Linked DNA regions of Homo sapiens: region 2 is linked to region 1. The links are contacts of gene promoters, found by promoter capture Hi-C in human tissues and cell types (Jung and others, 2019). All regions are on one chromosome and are shown on one strand. The core of a region is centred on a gene start or on the middle of the fragment in contact, and the rest is flanking DNA. Distances in the headings are between cores, read along the strand shown. Region 1 holds the start of CDC45 (cell division cycle 45). Region 2 overlaps TXNRD2 (thioredoxin reductase 2).

What was found. The method cuts DNA at HindIII sites, captures the fragments that hold promoters and counts their contacts. A contact is called where the count stands out against the background at its distance.
Region 2: a contact is called between a fragment that was not itself captured here and the fragment with the promoter of CDC45 in region 1, in 1 of the 25 tissues and cell types used here (dorsolateral prefrontal cortex).

What each region holds. Positions count from the first base shown.
Region 1 is chr22:19,476,725-19,482,057 of GRCh38, reverse strand. It overlaps CDC45 (cell division cycle 45), which reads right to left and starts at 2,138. Exons shown (of 19, transcript NM_003504.5): 1 at 2,039-2,138; 2 at 1,841-1,900; 3 at 1,013-1,105. The coding sequence starts at 2,089. UFD1 (ubiquitin recognition factor in ER associated degradation 1) reads left to right here and starts at 2,865. Exons shown (of 12, transcript NM_005659.7): 1 at 2,865-2,975. The coding sequence starts at 2,973. RefSeq lists silencers at 2,189-2,238, 3,029-3,098 and an enhancer at 2,329-2,628. The HindIII fragment of the contact is 17,956 bases long and covers 1-5,333 here.
Region 2 is chr22:19,923,813-19,928,539 of GRCh38, reverse strand. The region is part of intron 2 of TXNRD2 (thioredoxin reductase 2); the gene reads left to right. Among named protein-coding and RNA genes, the nearest start is that of COMT, 16 kb to the left of the region's middle. The HindIII fragment of the contact is 5,179 bases long and covers 653-4,727 here.

The DNA of each region.
Region 1 (5,333 bases), core at 889-3,388:
AATCCTGGCATCTATTGTTTAAATTTATTCCTGGATTTTAAGTTGGAAACCAGGATGCATTTTCTCAGAGAAATAACATAAAATAGTAGTGTATTCTAAAATAATTTTAACTAATTCCAGCACTTTGGGAGGCTGAGGCAGGCGGATCACTTGAGGTCAGGAGTTCGAGACCAGCCTGGCCAATGTGGCGAAACCCCGTCTCTACTAGAAATACAAAAATTAGCCAGGCGTGGTGGTGGGCACTTGTAATCCCAGCTAGTTAGGAGGCTGAGGCAGGAGAATCGCTTGAACCCAGAAGGCGGAGGTTGCAGTGAGCCAAGATTGCACCATGACACTCCAGCCTGAGTGACAAAGCGAGGTTCCGTCTCAAAAATAAATAAATAAAGGCTGGGCGTGGTGGCTCATACCTGTAATCCCAGCACTTTCGGAGGTGGGCAGATCACAAAGTCAGGAGATCAAGACCATCCTGACTAACATGGTGAAACTCCGTCTCTACTAAAAATACAAAAACATTAGCCAGGTGTGGTGGCGGGTGCCTGTAGTCCCAGCTACTCAGGAGGCTGAGGCAGAAGAATGGCATGAACCCAGGAGACACAGCTTGCAGTGAGCCGAGATCGTGCCACTGCACTCCAGCCTGGGCGACACAGCGAGACTCCGTTTCAAAAAAAATAAAAAATAAAAAAATAAACCAAAATAAAATAAAATAATTTTAACTAGACCATATTAAAAACTGCTAGATTCCAAGCACCTTACAATCAAATTTCTGCAAAACAAGTTAAAACAAGTTCAAAGTTGGGGCTATCCACATTCATTATCTTTTTTTGCTGTCAATTTTGCTTCTACAACTTGGGCGTGGTAAGTCACCAGTAAATACAGCATGTTTTTCTCTTCCATATTGCCTAATGTAGCTGATACTTAAATACACGCTTAATCTATCGTGGAAATAGAATGCTGTGTCAAGAAATTACAATTGAGTAAAAAGCCACGTTATTCTAAAACGCATCTTCAATACCTGTTCTTTATGCTCAAGAAATGCAGTTTCAAGTTCTTGCCACCCAGAAACTGGAACCAGCGTATATTGCACGTGGTCACACTGGAACAAGGCCTGGAGAGAGAGTGTTTTCAAAGCCTATCTTATTTAGGACATTAGCAATTTACCTTGAAAAGAAACTGAGGAAGATTAGACGGGTTGAGAGACAAAAGACACGGGATAACATTAAAGCTAGTGAAATGCTTACGGGAAAAGCTAGGTGCTAGGGATATGAGCGTTTACCATACCATTCTGTGAATTTTGCAAATTACCAAAGTAAAACATCGGGGAGAAATGCCGATTTAACTTCCAGGCCTTCTGAAAAGTTCCTGATCCAAGGGCCTGACCAAAACAACGTAAATACTATGCCCTATTCAAAACCAAACTAACGATCTTCCCTAATAGACTAGGGGCTCCCATATTCCCAGCAACACCTGTGACACGACTATACCCACAGTTGTCACAGATTCCTCTCTCTCAAATCCCCCATTTGAGAGGCCACGACAGATCCAAAGTTTCCCCCAAATGCAACTGCTGTGTTCACCTATTAATATTAATAGCTTATTGCAAAAATACAAACTAGTCTCTTTACCTTTTACTTAATCCTTTATCCCACCCCACACCGTTGGGACAGGGAGGCAACCTCTCCTCCGAGTCTCTCTCCTCTCACTTGCTGTTCACCTCCTGCCCTGCTCCCTCTCCCACCCTAAGCCCTCAGCACCCATCCTGACACTCTGCCCGCCCTGCGCCCCCACGCAGCACCCTCACCTCGCGCGCCGGCCCCGCCCTCCTAGGGTCCGCAGAACTCACCTGAAGGATCTTGCACGCACACAGAGCATCCACGTCCGAGGCCACGAAGAGAAGGACCCTCTATCGGGGAAGAGCAGACCGGCTGAACACGGCGACCCGAACCCCGGCCCTCCCCTGCCTCCCGGTCACCCACGGTCGCTCCCCCTCATCCCTTCCCCACCGGCAAGGCCTCGGCGGGGGTCCCGGACTGGGCGTCACCTGGCTCTGGACCACCTCGTAGAACTCTTTGCGGAAATCGGACACGAACATAGCCACGGCGGCCGGACGCCTGGCGCTCGCGCTGAGGTACCAAGAGCCCGGCGGCGGTCAAGACTCCCGCCAAATCACGGCTCCTCCGATTGGTCCAGGGATCACCAACCAATAGCTTCTTAGTTCCCAGCCTTCCTTTCTTTCTGATTGGGCCACATTGGAGGCGGCCATTAGCGCTCTGCCATTCACGGCCAGAAAACTCCAGCCCGCCCCCAAAGAAGCGTCACCTCTGAGGCCGAACGCAAACACTGTTGCCCCCTTCAACTCTGACTCGCTTTTACCCAGAAAAGCGACGCTGGGCGGACATCTTTACTTTGGGAAGAGAAGCCTACTGCCTCCCACTGGGAACCCTCAGGGAAAGTATACTTCTAACCATACATTAAACTCAGTCACATACCCAATGGGGCAGCATTTACGTTTGCAATAGGTTTTTGGTGTGGTTTGAAGAAGGATTTGTAGCTTAGTTCCGCCCGAGTCCTCGATGGCTGAAGCAGAGGCAGTCTGGGTAGTGCATTGTGGGTAGTGTAGTCGTAAGGACAATGGGCCCTACTAAATTCGTCTGGAGGGGAATACTGTCAACACGTAATTTAAAATAACGTTTAAAAATACCTATAAAAGGGGAAATAAATCACGAAAGGGCATTTTAATGCTTCTACTGAGGGTGTTTTAGAGCCTAGCGTCTTCGCCTGGCCTTTTCTCTTTTGCAGCCGACGCTTTGTCCCGGGCACCCCCCCTCCGGGTCTCGGGTCCGGCACTTCCGGTGAGCCTCTGGGGCGTACCGGCTTGGCGCGGCGGCAGCGGCAGCGGCGGCTGGGAGAGCGGTCGGCGGGGTTTCTTCGTTGCATTGCCTGAGAGGAGCGGAGTCTGCCAGGTGGTGTCCATCATGGTAAGCGCTGACGGGCAGCGGGCGGGGGCTGGGCCTTGGCCCGGGGCCTGAGGTAGGGCCCGGCGGGGCAGGGCGGGGCGGGACGGCGGCGGAGGTGCCGAGTCACCCGGGCCTGAGTCCGGCCTGCAGGCTCATCGGCCGCACCGGGCACAAGCAGGACCCTTGACCACTAACCGCCTGTGGTCGCGTCCGCCGGTCCTGAACGTGGCTCGCATTCTGTCTCAGCCGGACTTGCCCTCCTTGACGAAAGAAAGGAAGGTTTGTGTCCATTCACGGGTTTCCCAAGTGCTGGACGCGCAACAGGTTTCCATAAACCCAAAGTTAGTTGCAAGGTTGCTGGGGATGGGAACAGAATCAGGGCGCTCCCCAGGGAGAATCCGTAGTGGGCATCCCCCGCTCTTGGGGGACACCCAGCTCTTGCCCCAGCTCCGTGAGCTCCGTGCCTACGGGTTCGTGCCTTCGAATCTGTACAGCGGTGTTGTGTTCGGTAATGATAACGATGGAAGCTAATACCTGCTGGTACATTTCCTGTTACACAGCTTTTAACACCTGTACTCCCTCATCGCGGCTTATTTCTTTTAATCCCTACAATCCCTTTGGAAGCAAGGATGATGATGATTTTAAACATGAGAAAACTAACGTTTACAGAGGTACTTTATTCGAGTCACAGAAGTAGGGACTGGAGAGTTGAAGCCAAGTCTGTCTGGCTGCAAAGCACTCTACGGTATTGTCTTCCTGTCACCTGTTTATTTTAGTAAAGACAAGGAATGATTGTTAGATTTTATCCCAAGTGTGTCACTGTCAAACCCTGGCTTATTTCTATTCTTGAGTTCATCCACTCAAGAATACCTGATATGTTCCAGGCAGTGTGCTAGGTCTCGGGATTGAAAAGGAAAGTGAGAGATGGGATCGGGAGCAGCAAAGAAGGGGCAGAAGGTCGGGTTCATGGGTAAACTGCAGGCAGGTTGTTAAGTATGTTGCCCCTTTGTGCGGATTTACCTTTTATATTCAAAGAGAAGAAATGGCTTACATAGGTTGGCTAGTGAGAAGCACTCAAGGGAAGCAAGCCCCTACCCTGTTCTGGCCTTGTTCACCCAGAAACGCTATTTCCTGTGTTATGGTTCTGGCCAAGATTTAGCTGAACAGTTATGCTGCTTAAAAGAAGAAAGACAAAAGATTGGAAATTACTGTGTTAGAGTGCCAGGGAGTAAAGAACCATCCCAGATTTTAGGCGGGAACATGCTATGTTTGCATTTTGGGAGATGGCTAATTCAGCTTGCTAATTTTGGAGTTGCTAGTAAACTGCTTTGTCAGTAGGTGGCATTCCTTCTACTAAATATATATTTGGAATCAAGTCAAGAAATTTTCTCTAATACAGATTTTTTTTTAGTTGTGGTTAAAAAAACCAAATTTTTATCATCTTAACCGTTTTTCAGTCTATAGTTCAATAGTGTTGAGTACATTCACGAGCAACAGATTTTCAGAACTTTTTCATCTTGCAAAAGTGAAACTCTACTCACATTAAACAATAGCTCTCCATTTTCTGCTCCTCACAGCCCCTGTCAATCTCTGTTCCACTTTGTCTCCATGAATTTGCCTACTCTAGGTACTTCCTAGAAGCGGACTCATAAAATATAAGTCCTTTTATGACTGACTTACTTCACTTGGCATGATATCCTCAAGGTTCATCCATGTGACAGGATTTCTTTCCTTTTAAAAGCTGAATAATATTTCATTGTATGTATATACCATACCACAATTTGTTTATTCATTCATCTGTCATTGGACACTTGAGTTGCTTCCACCTTTTAGCTATTATGAATAATTGTGCTATGAATACGGGGTGTACAAAAATCTCTTCTTGATTCTGCCTCCAGTTCTTTTGAATATATATCCTCCTGTGAGATTTTAGGTGGTTTCAGTTACCCGAGGTCAACCATGGTCCAAAAATATTAAAATAGAAACCACATTCACATAACTTTTATTACAGTATATTGTTGTAATTGTTTTATTATTAATTGTTAATCTCTTACTGTGCCTAATTTATAAATTAAACTTTTTTTTTTTTTTTTTTTTGAGATGGAGTCTTGCTCTGTTGCCCAGGCTGGAGTGCAGTGGCACGATCTCGGCTCACTGCAACTTCCACCTCCTGGGTTCAAGCGATTCTTCTGCCTCAGCCTCCTGAGTAGCTGGGATTACAGGCGTGTACCACCACGCCCGGCTAATTTTTGTATTTTTAGTAGAGAGAGGGTTTCACTATGTTGGCCAGGCTGGTCTCAAACTCCTGACCTCAGGTAATCCACCTGCCTCTGCCTCCCAAAGTGCTGGGATTATAGGCGTGAGCCACCGCACCCAGCC
Region 2 (4,727 bases), core at 1,993-4,492, 450 kb before region 1:
TGCTGTCTGTCACTATAGTTTGCATTTTCTATAATTGCGTATAAACGGAATGCTGCTGTATGTCATCTTCCTCTTCTGGCTTCTTTCACTCAGGGTAATGACCTTGAGACTCATCTTCGTTGGCGCGAGTGTCGATGGTTTCTTGCTTTTCATTGCTGAGTAGTGTTCTGTTTATGGCTGTGCCGTTTCGTGTACGTGTTCCCCTGTAGCTGGACACTTGAATTGTTTCCACCTTTTGGCCATTGTGGACAGTATTGCTGTGAACGTCTGTCTGTGTGTTTGTGTGGATATATGTTTTAAATTATTTTGGGTAAGTGCCTAAAAATGGACCAACTGGATCGTGTGGTATATCTCTTATTTAGGTATTTTTTCATTTCTTTTAGCAGCATTTTGTAGTTTCTTTTTTACTCAAGTTTTTTTTTTTTATTAAAAAAAAGAAAGATGAGGGTCTCTCTGTGTTGCCCAGGCTGGTCTCAAAATCCTGGGCTCAAATGATCCTCCCACCTTGGCCTCCCAAAACGTTGGGATTACAGGAATGAGCCACGGTGCCTGGCCTGTGGTTTTCAATGTCTACGTCTTTCACATATTTTATCAGATACATCCCTAAGTGTTTCATATTTTTAGAATAGTTTTATTGAGATATACCTCACATTACGTATGCATTTGTCCCTTGGTACCCGAGGACGACTGGGTTCAGGAACTCCCGCTGTTAGCAGAATCCATGGACACTGAAATTTGTGCATACTGGAGTCAGGCAGTTGGCCCTGAAGCACCCACAGATACAGAGTCAGCCCTCTGTATATATAGTTTTGCATCCTATGAATACTGTTTTTTTCTTTTTCTTTCTTTTCTTTCTTTCTTTCTTTTCTTTTTTTTTTTTTTTTTTTTGAGACAAGGTCTCATGTGTTGCCCAGGCTGCAGTAAATGGTGCAATCTCGGCTCACTGCAACCTCCACCTCCCGGGTTCAAGCGATTTTCCCACCTCAGCCTCCCGAGTGGCTGGGACCACAGGCGCCACCATGCCCAGCTACTTTTTGTATTTTTTTGGTGGAGAAGGTGGGTTTCGCTATGTTGCCCAGGCTGGTGTTGAATTCCTGAGCTCAAGTGATCCGTCTGCCTCAGCCTCCCAAAGTGCTGGATTACAGGCATGAGCCACCATGTCCAGTGGAGTACTGTATTTCCAATCCGAGTTTGGTTACAGATTTGGAACTTGCTGATATGGAGAGATAATATATATATTTTTTTGAGACCGAGTTTCGCTCTTGTCACCCAGGCTGGAGTGCAATGGCACAATCTCAGCTCACTGCACTCTCCACCTCCTGGATTCAAGCAGTTCTCTTGCCTCAGCCTCCCGAGTAGCTGGGATTACAGGTGCCTGCCACCACGCCCAGCTAATTTTTGTATTTTTAGTAGAGACGGGGTTTCACCATGTTGGCCAGGCTGGTCTCGAACTCCTGACCTCAGGTGATCCGCCCACCTTGGCCTTCCAAAGTGTTGGGATTACAGGTGGGAGCCACTGTGCCCGGTCAAGGGATTATATTTATTGAAAAAAAATCCATGTATGAGTGGACCTGTGCAGTTCAAACCTGTGTTATTCAAGAACATTTTAGTTTCTCCCCAAAATACCCTGTACCCATTGGCAGTCAGTCTCTTCCCCCCTCTCCCCAGCCCCTGGCAACCACTAATCTACTTCCTATATCCGTGGATGTGTCTGTTCTGGACATTTCAGCTGTTTTTTGGTTGGTTGGTTGTTTGTTTTCAGACAGGGTCTGACTCTGTTGCCCAGGCTGGGGTGCAGTGGCACCATCTCGGCTCACTGCAACCTCGGCCTCTCGGGCTCAAGCAATTCTCCCACCTCAGCCTCCCGAGTAGCTGGGATTACAGGTGTGCACCACCACATCCAGCTAATTTTTTGTATTTTTAGTAGAGACGGGGTTTCACCATACTGGCCAGGCTGGTCTTGAACTCTTGACCTCTCAAGTGTTCCACCCACCTTGGCCTCCCAAAGGGTTGGGATTAACAGGTGTGAGCCGCCGTTGTTTTGTTTTTTGAGATGGAGTCTCGCTCTGTCACCCTGACTGGAGTGCAGTGGTGTGATCTTGGCTCACTGCAACCTGTGCCTCCTGGGCTCAAATGATTCTCCTGCCTCAGCCTCCCAAGTAGCTGGGACCACAGGCACACACCACTATACCCGACTAATTTTTGTACTTTTAGTAGAGATGGGGTTTCACCATGTTGGCCAGGCTGGTCTTGAACTCTTGACCTCAGGTGATCCGCCCACCTCGGCCTCCCAGAGTGCCGGTATTACAGGCATGAGCCACCGTGCCTGGCCTCTTCGCATTTTCTTTTTCTTTTTCTTTCTTTTTTTTTTTTTTTGAGACGGAGTTTCGCTCTTGTTGCCCAGGCTGGAGTACCATGGCACAATCTCGGCTCACCGCAACCTCCGCCTCCCAGGTTCAAGCAATTCTCCTGCCTCAGCCTCCTGAGTAGCTGGGATTACAGGCATGCACCACCACGCCTGGCTAATTTTGTATTTTTAGTAGAGAAAGGGTTTCTCCATGTTGAGGCTGGTCTTGAACTCCTGACCTCAGGTGATCCACCCGCCTCGGCCTCCCAAAGTGCTGGGATTACAGGCGTGAGCCACCATGCCCGGCCCTGCACTTTCTTGATGGTATCCTTTGTGCCACAAAAGTTTTAAATTTTGGTGAAGTCCTAATTTATCTATTTTTTTCCTTTGTTGCTTATGATTTTGGTATCATAGCTAAGAAATCCAAGATCACAAAGATTTACACCTGTGTTTTCTTCTAAGCATTTTATAGTTCAAGCTCTTACAGTTAGGTCTTTGATTTATTTTGAGTTGCTTTAGGGTTTATGGCATGTACCTTAACTTGCCAGTCTACCCTTAAAAAAGCATACATCTATTCCACCCCTCCTAACCTTCATTCTATGTTATTATATCATGTGTTTACTGTTACATGTTATAAATCCATGATACATCATTATTATTTTTGTTTAAAATATACTTAAATCGTGTGAGAAAATCTCACATACTCACCCATTGTATTTCTGTGCTCTTCATTCCTTTGTGAGGATCCACATTTCCATCTGGTATTTTTCTTCTACCTTAAGGGCATCCTTTAGCATTTCTTGTAATATGGCTCTGGGGGTAATGAATTCTCTCAGCTTTTGTATGTCTGAAAACGTCTTTATTTTGCCTTCTTTTTTGTTGTTGTTGTTTTGTTTTGTTTTGTTTTTTGAGATGGAGTCTTGCTCTGTCGCCCAGGCTGGAGTGCAGTGGTGCGATCTCAGCTCACTGCAAGCTCTGCCTCCCGGGTTTGCGCCATTCTCCTGCCTCAGCCTCCTGAGTAGCTGGGACTACAGGCGCATGCCACCATGCCCGTCTAATTTTTTGTGATTTTAGTAGAAACGGGGCTTCGCCGTGTTAGCCAGGATGGTCTCGATCTCCTGACCTTGTGATCCGCCCCCCTTGGCCTCCCAAAGTGCTGGGATTACAGGCGTGAGCCACCATGCCTGGCCCCCCGCTTTTTTTTTTTTTTTCAGTACTTTAAAAATTTTGCCCCTCTGACTTCTGGCTTGCATTGTTTCCAGTGAGAAATCTGCTACTATTTTTATCTTAGTGTCTCTGTAGTGTGTCTTGGTTGCTTTTAGGATTTTCTCTTTTCATTGGCCTTGAGTCCCTCCTTCTTCCCCTCACATGTGGGGACTTTTAATTCCATGTATATTAGGCTGCATGAAGCTTCCCCACAACCTACTGATGCTCTTTTCATTAGAAACATTTCTTACTCTGCGTTTCATTTTGGATAGTTTCTATTCCTATGTTTTCAAACCCACCAATAAAAGATTCTGCAACATCTGACCTGCCATTAATCCCGTCCAGTGTATTTTTCATCTCCTGTATTGTAGTTTTCATCTCTACAATCCAGCTTGAGCCTTTGGTTATATCTTCCATGTTGCTCCTGCACTGTTTGAACATGCAGAATGGCTAGTGGGGCAGTGAGCTGAGGAGAAGGGACAGAGGGGAAGCTCAGCTGTTGGGTCTACGGGTATGATGGAGACCATGCAGCTGAAAGTAAACCGTCACCCCTTCTGCTTCAGTGTGAAAGGCCAGGTGAAGATGCTGCAGCTGATGAGGCTGGGCCTTAGGGTGCGGGGGGTGGTGGAATCTGCTTGTGGGCGGGAGATGTGGCTATGTGGCTATAAAGGATGAAGATGAACGCCCTGTTTGCTTTTCAGCCTCGCTTGGATCAAGGTTAAAAGGCCGGTTGTGGCCTTCTTGGTGGAAGAAAGAGAGAGATAAGGCACTGTCCTCCCCTTCGGAGGGTCTGGGGATACACTAATCCATCAAAACCACTGAGGGCTGGGCGTTGGTGTGTGCCTGTGGTCCCAGCACTTTGGGAGGCTGAGCTGGGAGGATTGCTTGAGCCCAGGAGGTCAAGGCGTAAGCAAGCTGTGATCGCACCGCTGCACACCAGTGCCTGGGCAACAAAGTGAGACTCTGTCTCTTTAAAAGAAAAAAGAAAAAAAAGCCTTTTTTTAAATTAAAAAAAAAATCAAGTCTACCTGAATGGCCTGCAGTTGGACCCACAAACCAGGTACCCAAGTTACCAGGCAAGGCAGCTGCAGTTGTACCAGTCAGAAGTCCACAAGATTTGAAAAAAAAAAAAAAAAAAAAAAGCCTCAGGGGTTTCAGTGAATGCTGTGTTAAC